Linked DNA regions of Homo sapiens: regions 2 and 3 are each linked to region 1. The links are contacts of gene promoters, found by promoter capture Hi-C in blood cells and fetal thymus (Javierre and others, 2016). All regions are on one chromosome and are shown on one strand. Each heading gives the region's core, a stretch centred on a gene start or on the middle of the fragment in contact. The rest is flanking DNA. Distances are from core to core; before and after follow the strand shown.

Region 1 (2,994 bases), core at 329-2,828:
ATGAATGATGTCCATATAATAAGTTATTAGCCAACCATTAAAAAGAAAGGGAAGAAATAAATCAGTTTGGTTTTTACACACACATACAGACACACACATATAAACATTGATCAACACTGAAATGTTTAATAGTCATTATTTTCGGGTCGTAAAATTCACTGTTCTTCAATGAATACTTGTAGAGCACATATTATATGCAGTAGTTTTGATAGGTTCTAGGGGTATAGTGGAAAACATACCAGGTATACGCTGCTCTTAGCTTATTTTCCAGTGGGAAAGATAGACAATAAGCAAGTGAACAAATGCAAATAAATTACTCTAGATTGTTATAAGTGAAATTAAGTACCAATCCTTTAGATATGGTACACAGAGAAGGATCTCTGACAGACCCCAACATTGACACTGAAGCTGAAAGGCATAAAAGAACCAGAGACCTGGGGAGGGGCCGGTGGGCAGAAGGAGAGCAGGTGCCAAGCCCCCAGGTGGAGAGCTCTGGGCTCATCTCAGGAACCGAAGGCCCTCAGTGAGGTAAGAATATACCTCTCAGGGAGAGATTGACATGAATTGGGGCCCCAGAAGAAGGCAGAAGCCAGGTACCCAGGGTCTTTTAAACCACGGCAGTGAGTTTGAATGTTATTTCAAGTGTGCTGGTGCACTGTTGGCACGGGGGAGAGATGTGCTCAAATCCCCACTCTGAAAGATTTCTTAAGCTATTTCTAGAGTATGATTTACAACAGGAAATGGATGATTTGATTCTGATCTTTATACCTTCATGCATTTAAAAAAGTACTTAAGAAAGTAGTTTGGTTTGTCATTATAAAAAGCAATACTTATTTTTATATTGTGTAGATTCAATCTTGTTTCCTTGCCTAGAGTGGGCCGTGCTTTGGAGTTCTTATGAGCATGGCATTCCTGAGAACTTCTCTAACTGCAGCCTCGGGCATAGAGGCTGGGCAGCAAGTGGCAGCAGCAGAGGACTCCTAGAAGCCTTCTACTTGACTCTACTTGGCCTAAAGTCAAACTCCCTCCACCAAAGACAGAGTTTATTTCCACATAGGATGGAGTTAAAAAATATATTCTGAGAGAGGAAGGGCTTGTGGCCCAAGAGAACACCCCAGAAATACCACCCCTTCATGGGAAGTGACTCTATCTTCAAACATATAACCCAGCCTGGACATCCCCGAAAGACACATAACTTTCCATTTCATGCCCTTGAAAGTGAATCTTTTGGCCTAATAATGAGAACAAACTCATTTTGAAAGTGGAAAAATTGAGATTCAGAGCAGAAGTTTGACTAAGGTCACAAAACAGTAGGATGCCTCACTCAGCTCCCTGTGCCTAGGTCAGAAAAGCATCACAGGAATAGTTGAGCTACCAGAATCCTCTGGCCAGGCAGGAGCTGTGTGTCCCTGGGAAATGGGGCCCTAAAGGGTTTGCTGCTTAAGATGCCTGTGGTGAGTCAGGAAGGGGTTAGAGGAAGTTGACCAACTAGAGTGGTGAAACCTGTCCATCACCTTCAACCTGGAGGGAGGCCAGGCTGCAGAATGATATAAAGAGTGCCCTGACTCCTGCTCAGCTCAGCACTCCACCAAAGCCTCTGCCTCAGCCTTACTGTGAGTCTGGTAAGTGTCGGATGGTAGAACCAGGGTTGGGACTCGGGACCTCCAACAGCATACGATGTGGTGGGGGTGGGCAGCCTGGGTGGGGGTGGGCATTACTCTGGGGCTGGATTCAGCTGGACTTTCATTCTAGGGGGACTCGAGTCAGAGTACTGAGAGAAAAGTGCCTTGGCACAGAAGTGCAGAACAGAGAGTAATCATCCTATGTCCCATCTTTTCTTGTGACCATATTTTTGGATTTGTGTGTGAGAGAGAATTATGGAAGGGAGGAGGGGAATAGCATTCAACTTCTTTCCTAAACCTCTTGGGTTTTGACAGACCATCATTTTGCCTTCTTTATGGAGGGAGAGGTTCAGGGAAGAGCTTCTACCTTTTGGCTATGCTGCACAGAGGGATGGCAGAATGGGGAAACCTTTCTATTTGGAGAAACCTAGGCAGAGCTGGGACAGGAAAACTCAACTTAGAAGTATAAGACTTGGAAGAACAACCTCCAACTCTCAGCAACCTTCCAGCTCCCGCAGCCCCACCCCAGACACAAGGACTGCAGCTAAACCTCAGAAGGTCAGGAGAGAAAGCAGCCCTGGGGTTGAATAGGCCAACCTGCTGGCTTTACAGGGGGGAAAACCAAATCCCAGGAGACTAAGTGACATGCCCAGAAACACACAGCATTCCAATGGGAGATTCAGGCCTAGAGCATGTCCTGTGGCTCCAGTCTGGAGGTCACACCATGACCTCTTAGGTCCTCTCTGGCACGGCCTATTGGTTTTCTAGGACTTGGTGTTCTCCAAGAGACATTTCATTCCCTAAGGCCTTACTCCTCACTGTGACATAATCCCAGAACGCATCTCTGCTCCTTGGTCAGTGAAGCGATGAGGGTGGACACAAGGACTAGACAAGAGCAGACAGTGAGCTGGCACCTGACCCACCCTTGCAGAACAGCCCTGCAGACAGATCTCCTTGTTGGCTCTCACCTGGGAACAAGGAGGCTCCTAGGAGGACCTTTCTCTGCCCCTCCACATTTCCACCCTTCTCTCTCTGCTGCTTTTGGGAAATGATAGTCCAGAGGTGGTAGAACAGTACCCTGCCCAAGGGAAGAGGGGATGCTAAAAAACCAGATACTTCTGCAGATTCCCAAGGTTTCATCTATTTCCTTTGCCTTCAGCCTGTGCATCAGACCTCTTCTGTCTTTCAGGTTGACAGTAGCTTCTAAGATGTCCCAGCAACACACACTGCCAGTGACCCTCTCCCCTGCCCTCAGTCAGGAGCTCCTCAAGACTGTTCCTCCTCCAGTCAATACCCATCAGGAGCAAATGAAACAGCCAACTCCACTGCCTCCCCCATGCCAGAAGGTGCCTGTCGAGCTCCCAGTGGAGGT
Region 2 (2,994 bases), core at 332-2,831, 290 kb after region 1:
CATCCTCCCCCTGTCCCTGGTAACCACTGTTACAGCCTTTGATTTAATGAATTTGACTATTTTTAGATACTTGATGTAAGTGGAATGATGCAGTATTTGTCTTTCTGTATTTGACTTATTTCACTGCATAATGTCCTCAAGGGCCATTTATGTTGTTGAATAAGGCAGAATTTCTTTCCTTTTTAAGGCTGGATAGTATTCTATCATGTGTATATACCACATTTTCTTCATTCATCTGTTGATGGACATTTAGGTTATTTTCACATCTTAGCTAAAGTTTGATTAGATAAAGCTGCTTATTCCAACTGCTACTGTTCCAGCCCATGCTGCCTCCTGTGGCAAAAGAAGATCATTAGGGAAACACAGTGCTGCCTCCCACTTTATTAAAAAATATGAAGACCTTGTAAAGCTGGTTAAGAAATTGACAAGAACTACTTCAAATCATCTGAAAATGTCCCCCAAATTTCCTGACTTTGTGATCCCACACTCAGTGAAGGAAATGGGTCTCTGCTTTTCACTGCCTTCCTTACCTGTGCAAAGAGATCTCGCTTTGTGCCCTGAGCCTGCAGAAGTCACTCTCAACCTGCTGAGGGATTTTCTCTTCATCTCTGCTCTCTCCATTAAGACATCTGCCCCAGTGGGCCCCCAGTTTATTGCCCTTGCTTGTAGCTGGGAAGGTGATGGTGTCACAGGAGGAAAAAGGAAACAGAAGCCTGGTGGGCACCTTAGGAGGAGCCCTCAGGTAAAATGTGGACTCCACAGAGGAGTCCGGTAGAGCTTCACTCAAGAGAATGACTCCCATTTACCCACAGGATCCTTCCCTACCGTGCCTGGCCCAGCTACCTCCCTGCCAAGTCCACTCCATCCTGTGTCCTCCCCAGTTCTCCTGAAGTGGGTCTCACCAGGCAGAGAATGTGTGTGTGTGTGTGTGTGTGTGTGTGTGTGTGTGTGTGTGTGTGTATGTTGGAGGATGAAGAGGAGGTGCAGGGCAAGATAAACCCTAGCTGCAGGGAAGGGGAGATGGACACTCGCTGAAGCTTGAGTCCATCTCTGCTTGGGAGCCTGGATCAGATGGCGGCTGTATCCTGGACAAATCCAACAAGATCTGGGATTTTCAGCCTACACAGCCCAGCGGTACCTGCCTCCTGGAATCTCTGGGCCTCATACAGATATATTCATGTTGGAAGCTGACCCTGAGAAACAGATCTCCATCTCCATAAAGTTGGATCTCCCTCCTCTGACAGACAGTTTATTTGATTCTTATCTCCCCTGCTGAACTTTGTCTTGTATATCCATTCATTTATTTCCCAAATATTCACTGAGCATCTATTATATGTCAGGCCCTGGCCCAGCACTAAAGATGCAAAGAATAATAAGAAAGCCCTTTCCTGGATTAGGGCACTGTATGAGACAGAAGACAGCATTGCCCCCCGGCAGAACAGGTGGGGAGTCAATCCATGGGGAGCACATCAGGCATGTTCAGAGATGGTATCTCTTAACTGCAGCAGGGTGGGGGTCCAGAGCAGTCCACATGGAAGGTGGAATTTTCAAATTGTATATAGAAGATAAAAAATAAATATCAATAAGGCAAAAAGGAGGGGGATACTCCAGTTAGAGAGAAAAGCAATTGCGAAACCATTGAAATATTATTCCATCTCCTTATTGACAAGAAGCATTAACTATTGCCTGGCCAACATGTGCCAAGACACACACTGGACACTGCAGAAACAGAGATTTTAAAAAGTAATTGGTTCCTGATCTCTACACTACATCATGTGAGAGAGTAGATCAGGAAGTAAATAACTACAAAATATGGGGATAAAAATTTCAGAATGAGCTTGGCTAAGGCAACTAACTGCCTGGGAAGGTGAGAGAAATCATGCCCAAGGAGAATTTCCTATGAGTTCAAGGTTGAGGAGGAGAGAGGGAGGACTCGGCTGGCAGAGCAAAAACTCGGAGTTTAAAAAAATAAAAAAAGTCTAGCATATTTTGGAAACTGCAAGTAGCTTTACCCCAGAATCTACGGTAAAAGTAGAAGACCGAGCTGAAAGTAGACACCAGATTAGTAAGAGTTTTGTTGACCCAACCAAGAGCCTTGGGCCTCATCTTAAATTCAATAGTAAAATTAAGCTTTTGTTTTATAAAATTCACTTCGGCAATGCTGTGGGGGTTGAATTAGTGGTGAGACTCTTTGGAGACAGGGAGACCTGTGATGATGATGCCACAATAAAGGCAGCAACCATGGCTGTGAGAGAATGGGGGACCAACTTGAGAGAAATGTGCCTGCAGCTCCCAAACACACCCTGGCTTAGAAGCCTGTGGCTCAGGAGGTAGAATCTGCAGATCCTGATAGCACATTTGGTGTGAGGTTGAGTAGGAAGCAAGAGTCTGGGATGATCCCAGGTTTCTTGTTAAGTCTTGGTGGACAGGATGCTATTCACAGAGTCGGAGCGCATAAGAGGAGCAAGAGGGGCATGTTAGGAAAAATGTGGAAGGTGTTGAACTCTGATTTTGTAAAATCAGCTTGAGGTACCAAAGTACATCCAATGGATGTTAGTATTGGGACCTAAAGCTCAGGGAAGAGGGTGGGCTTTGGGATTCTCTATGCAGAGCTGGTACTTTCAGCAATGGTGGATAATAATATCAGCAGCAAGGGTGAAAAATGAAGGTGCAGGTGATGTTGAAAGGATTCAACAGAGGAGAAAGGGCTCGGGAAGGAGAGTAGATGAGGCTGTAAGTGGGAGTCTACCCATGTCACAGAGGACCAAAAGGGAAGAGGGTTAAAATATAGGACACAACTGTAACAATTACTGCAGTAAAGTCAAATAGGATAAACCCTGAACCATGTCCATGAGGATTTCGTAGAACATTCTTCCCCCTTTATATAATGAATGAGCAAAAATACACAAATATCAAGAAAAACTTACGCAATGGTGATTGATAAACAGTGAAAGGGGAGGATGTATATCTGGTTCCCATGGGCCAGATATGAGC
Region 3 (2,994 bases), core at 204-2,703, 270 kb after region 1:
TAGAGAAAATTTCTTTCTATTCCTAGTTTGCAAGAGTTTTATCCTCAATGCATGTTGAATTTTGTCAAATGCTTTCTCTACATCTATTCAGATGATATAATTTCTTCCTTTATTCAGTTAATTTGGTGAATTACATTTATAATATTAAATAAACCTTGCATTCTGTGACAAATCCTCTTAATATATTGCTAGACTCAATTTACTGATATTTTCTTAAGGATTTTTGCTTCTATGCTCCTGAGGAATAACGATCTGTAACTTTCTTTTCATTTAATGTCCTTGTCAAGTTTCAATATCAGGGCTACGTTAACCTGAAAAAGACTTGGTGAATATTCCCTCTTTCTCTGTTTTATGAAAGAAATTATGTATGATTGAAATTTTTATTTCTTAAGTGTGTGGTATAATTCACCAGTTAATCCTTTTGGACCTGGGGCATTCTATATGGGAAGGTTTTAAACTATGGGTTTTATTTCTGTAATAATTTTAGAGATTGTCTCAGTCAGGGTACAATGAGAGGAACAGAACCAGTTGGAAATGTACTTCAGAGATTTACTACAAGGACTCAATTTATGTGATTGCAAAGGCAGCTAGGCAAGTCTAAAATCCAGAAGTCAGGACATCAAGAGGGTAAGCTGGAACTCTGTCATAGGCTGAAGCTGTAATCCACACATATAATTTCTTCAGGGAAGATTTAGCTTGGCTTTTAAAGCCTTTCAACTGATTGAATCAGACCAGCCTGTATAAACTAGGATTTTCTCCCTTACTTAGAGTCAATTCATAATGGACTTTAATCACATCTACCTTCACAGCAACACCTAGATTAGTATTTGATTGAGTAACTAGGGACTGTCATGCAGCCAAGCTGACACGTCAAAAGACCATCACAGGGCTGTCAAGTTTTCATTTATGTGTTAGTTTTTTATTTTCAAGGAATTTGTGCTTTTCATCTAAGTTGTAGAATTCAATATGAAGTTGTTTATAATATCCACTCATTTTAAATATAACAATGTCACGCCTATCATTTGTGAAATGGTTTCATTTTTAAATATACAATATCATCGTGTGTGTGAAGGTACTCATGCCACAAACTAAATAAGGATAATAATGTTTGAAATAATGATAGTAGTCATAATAATAATTTTTAAGACCTAGGATTCATCTCTTATTCCTCTTTTCCTCACCTCCCACATACTACTTCTTCCTAGATCCCAAGTTCTGCCTTAAGCTTATTATCACTTCTCATCTTCTCATTATCTTCAATGTTCTTACCCTAATTAGAGCCACCATCACCCTCACCTGAACCACTGCAGAAGTTTCCTATCTTGTGTCCTGATTTCTATCTTGTCTCCGTATTCCTATCTTGTGCCACAGCAATCCCATATCAGAACAACCACAGCAATCATATAAAATATAGAGAAGATTATGTCCTCCCTAATTGAAATGATCAAATATCTTGCCATTGTATCTAGAGAAAAGTCTGAAGACCTTACTGTCCTACAAAGCACTTCATGCTGTGGCACTGACTCTTATGCTGACTTCATCATATCTTTCTTTCCTTGTTCACTAAGTTGCAGGAATATTGGCATTCTGGTGGCTTCCTTCCCTTTAAAGTAACCTTTTAACTGACTAAAATTGAAGTATAAATTAATAAAAGCTCACCAAGTACAGGTATACAACTTAATAAAGCTTCATAAGCTAAACAACCATGCAACCAATGCACAAATGAAGAAATAACATGTTACCAGCATCTCAGAAGCAGTCCACCTGGGAAGCAGGTTCTCAAAAGCAGTCCGAGTCACTACCAGCCCCCAAACATTAACTTTTTCCTGGCATCTAACACTGTACATTTGTTCTTCATGTTCTGAACTGTATATAAAGGGAATCATACAGTATGAACTCTTTGGTGCCTGGATTTTTTTTCCCCAAAATTGTGTTTGTGATACTGATTCATTTTCTGGTTTGTAGATATAGATCGTTGATTCTCATTGCTGTATGGTATTTCTCTATGAGAATATACTACCATTTATGCATCCATTTTATTGCTAAAAGGTATTTTAGTAGTTTCCAATTTGGAATTTTTAAAAATAGTGCTAATGTGAATATTTACGTATTTGTCCTTTTGTGACTATATGTACACACTTCTGTTAGGTACATACCTAGGAAAATATAATGACTGGGTCAGAGGATAGGGATATGCTCAGCTCTAGTGAATACTGTTAACTTTTCCAAATTCTTTCTACCATCTATTATTCCCATCAGCAGTGTGTGAAAGTTTCAATTGCTCCACACTCTGTCTAAACTTGGTATTGTCTATCTTTTTTCGTGTTAGCCATTTCGGTGGCTATGTGGAGATAACACGTTGTGACTTGAATTTGCATTTCTCTTATGAATGGTGAGATTAAACTCTTTATTATATGTTTATTGGAAATACAGAAATGCCCTTTCATGAATTGCCTGTTCAGGTTGTTCAGATATTTTTCTATTTGCTCATTTCTTGTTTTTTTGTTGATCTGTGAGTAGGAACACATGTGTATATATGTTCTGGGAACAAGCCCTTTGTTAAATATAGATATTACATACAGCTTCTCCATCTCTGTGGCTTGGCATTTTGCAATCTTGGTGGTGTTTTTGATAATCAGAAATTTTTAATTTTAATGAAATCCAATTTGTCATTTTTCCACCTTATTGGTATGCTTTTTATTACCTGATTAAGGAATCTTTCCTATTGACAAGATCTGAAGACATTCTCCCAGAGTTTAGAATTTTGTTTGTTTGTTTTTGGTTGTGTAATATATTTTTATTTTCTATGGGTACATAATATACATATTTATGGGGTACATGTGACATTTTGCTACACACATAGAATGTATAATGATCAAGTCACAGTATTTAGAATATCCATCACCGTGAGCATTTATCGTTTATCTGTGGTGAGTACATTTCAGTTCCTCACTTCCAGATATTTTGAAAGATACAACACATTCTCATTAACTA

Evidence for each region. Contacts are between HindIII fragments. The CHiCAGO score rates a contact against its expected background, and 5 or more counts as called.
Region 2: a contact is called between a fragment that was not itself captured here and the fragment with the promoter of IVL in region 1, in 10 of 17 cell types (M2 macrophages, endothelial precursors, M1 macrophages and 7 more). The highest score is 11.2, in M2 macrophages.
Region 3: a contact is called between a fragment that was not itself captured here and the fragment with the promoter of IVL in region 1, in 10 of 17 cell types (endothelial precursors, M2 macrophages, M1 macrophages and 7 more). The highest score is 13.4, in endothelial precursors.

What each region holds. Positions count from the first base shown.
Region 1 is chr1:152,906,968-152,909,961 of GRCh38, forward strand. It overlaps IVL (involucrin), which reads left to right and starts at 1,579. Exons shown (of 2, transcript NM_005547.4): 1 at 1,579-1,622; 2 at 2,812-2,994. The coding sequence starts at 2,831. RefSeq lists promoters at 1-2,819, 680-1,619, 1,339-1,573, enhancers at 1-346, 1-261, 1,180-1,459, a cis regulatory region at 929-1,425 and silencers at 1,194-1,246, 1,619-2,819. The HindIII fragment of the contact is 6,184 bases long and covers 1-2,994 here.
Region 2 is chr1:153,196,220-153,199,213 of GRCh38, forward strand. It overlaps a transcript of SPRR2G not described here. Among named protein-coding and RNA genes, the nearest start is that of LELP1, 5.7 kb to the right of the region's middle. The HindIII fragment of the contact is 1,093 bases long and covers 1,036-2,128 here.
Region 3 is chr1:153,178,474-153,181,467 of GRCh38, forward strand. All of the region lies in intron 2 of LOC101928009 (a long non-coding RNA gene), which reads left to right. It also overlaps a transcript of SPRR2G not described here. Among named protein-coding and RNA genes, the nearest start is that of LELP1, 23 kb to the right of the region's middle. The HindIII fragment of the contact is 461 bases long and covers 1,224-1,684 here.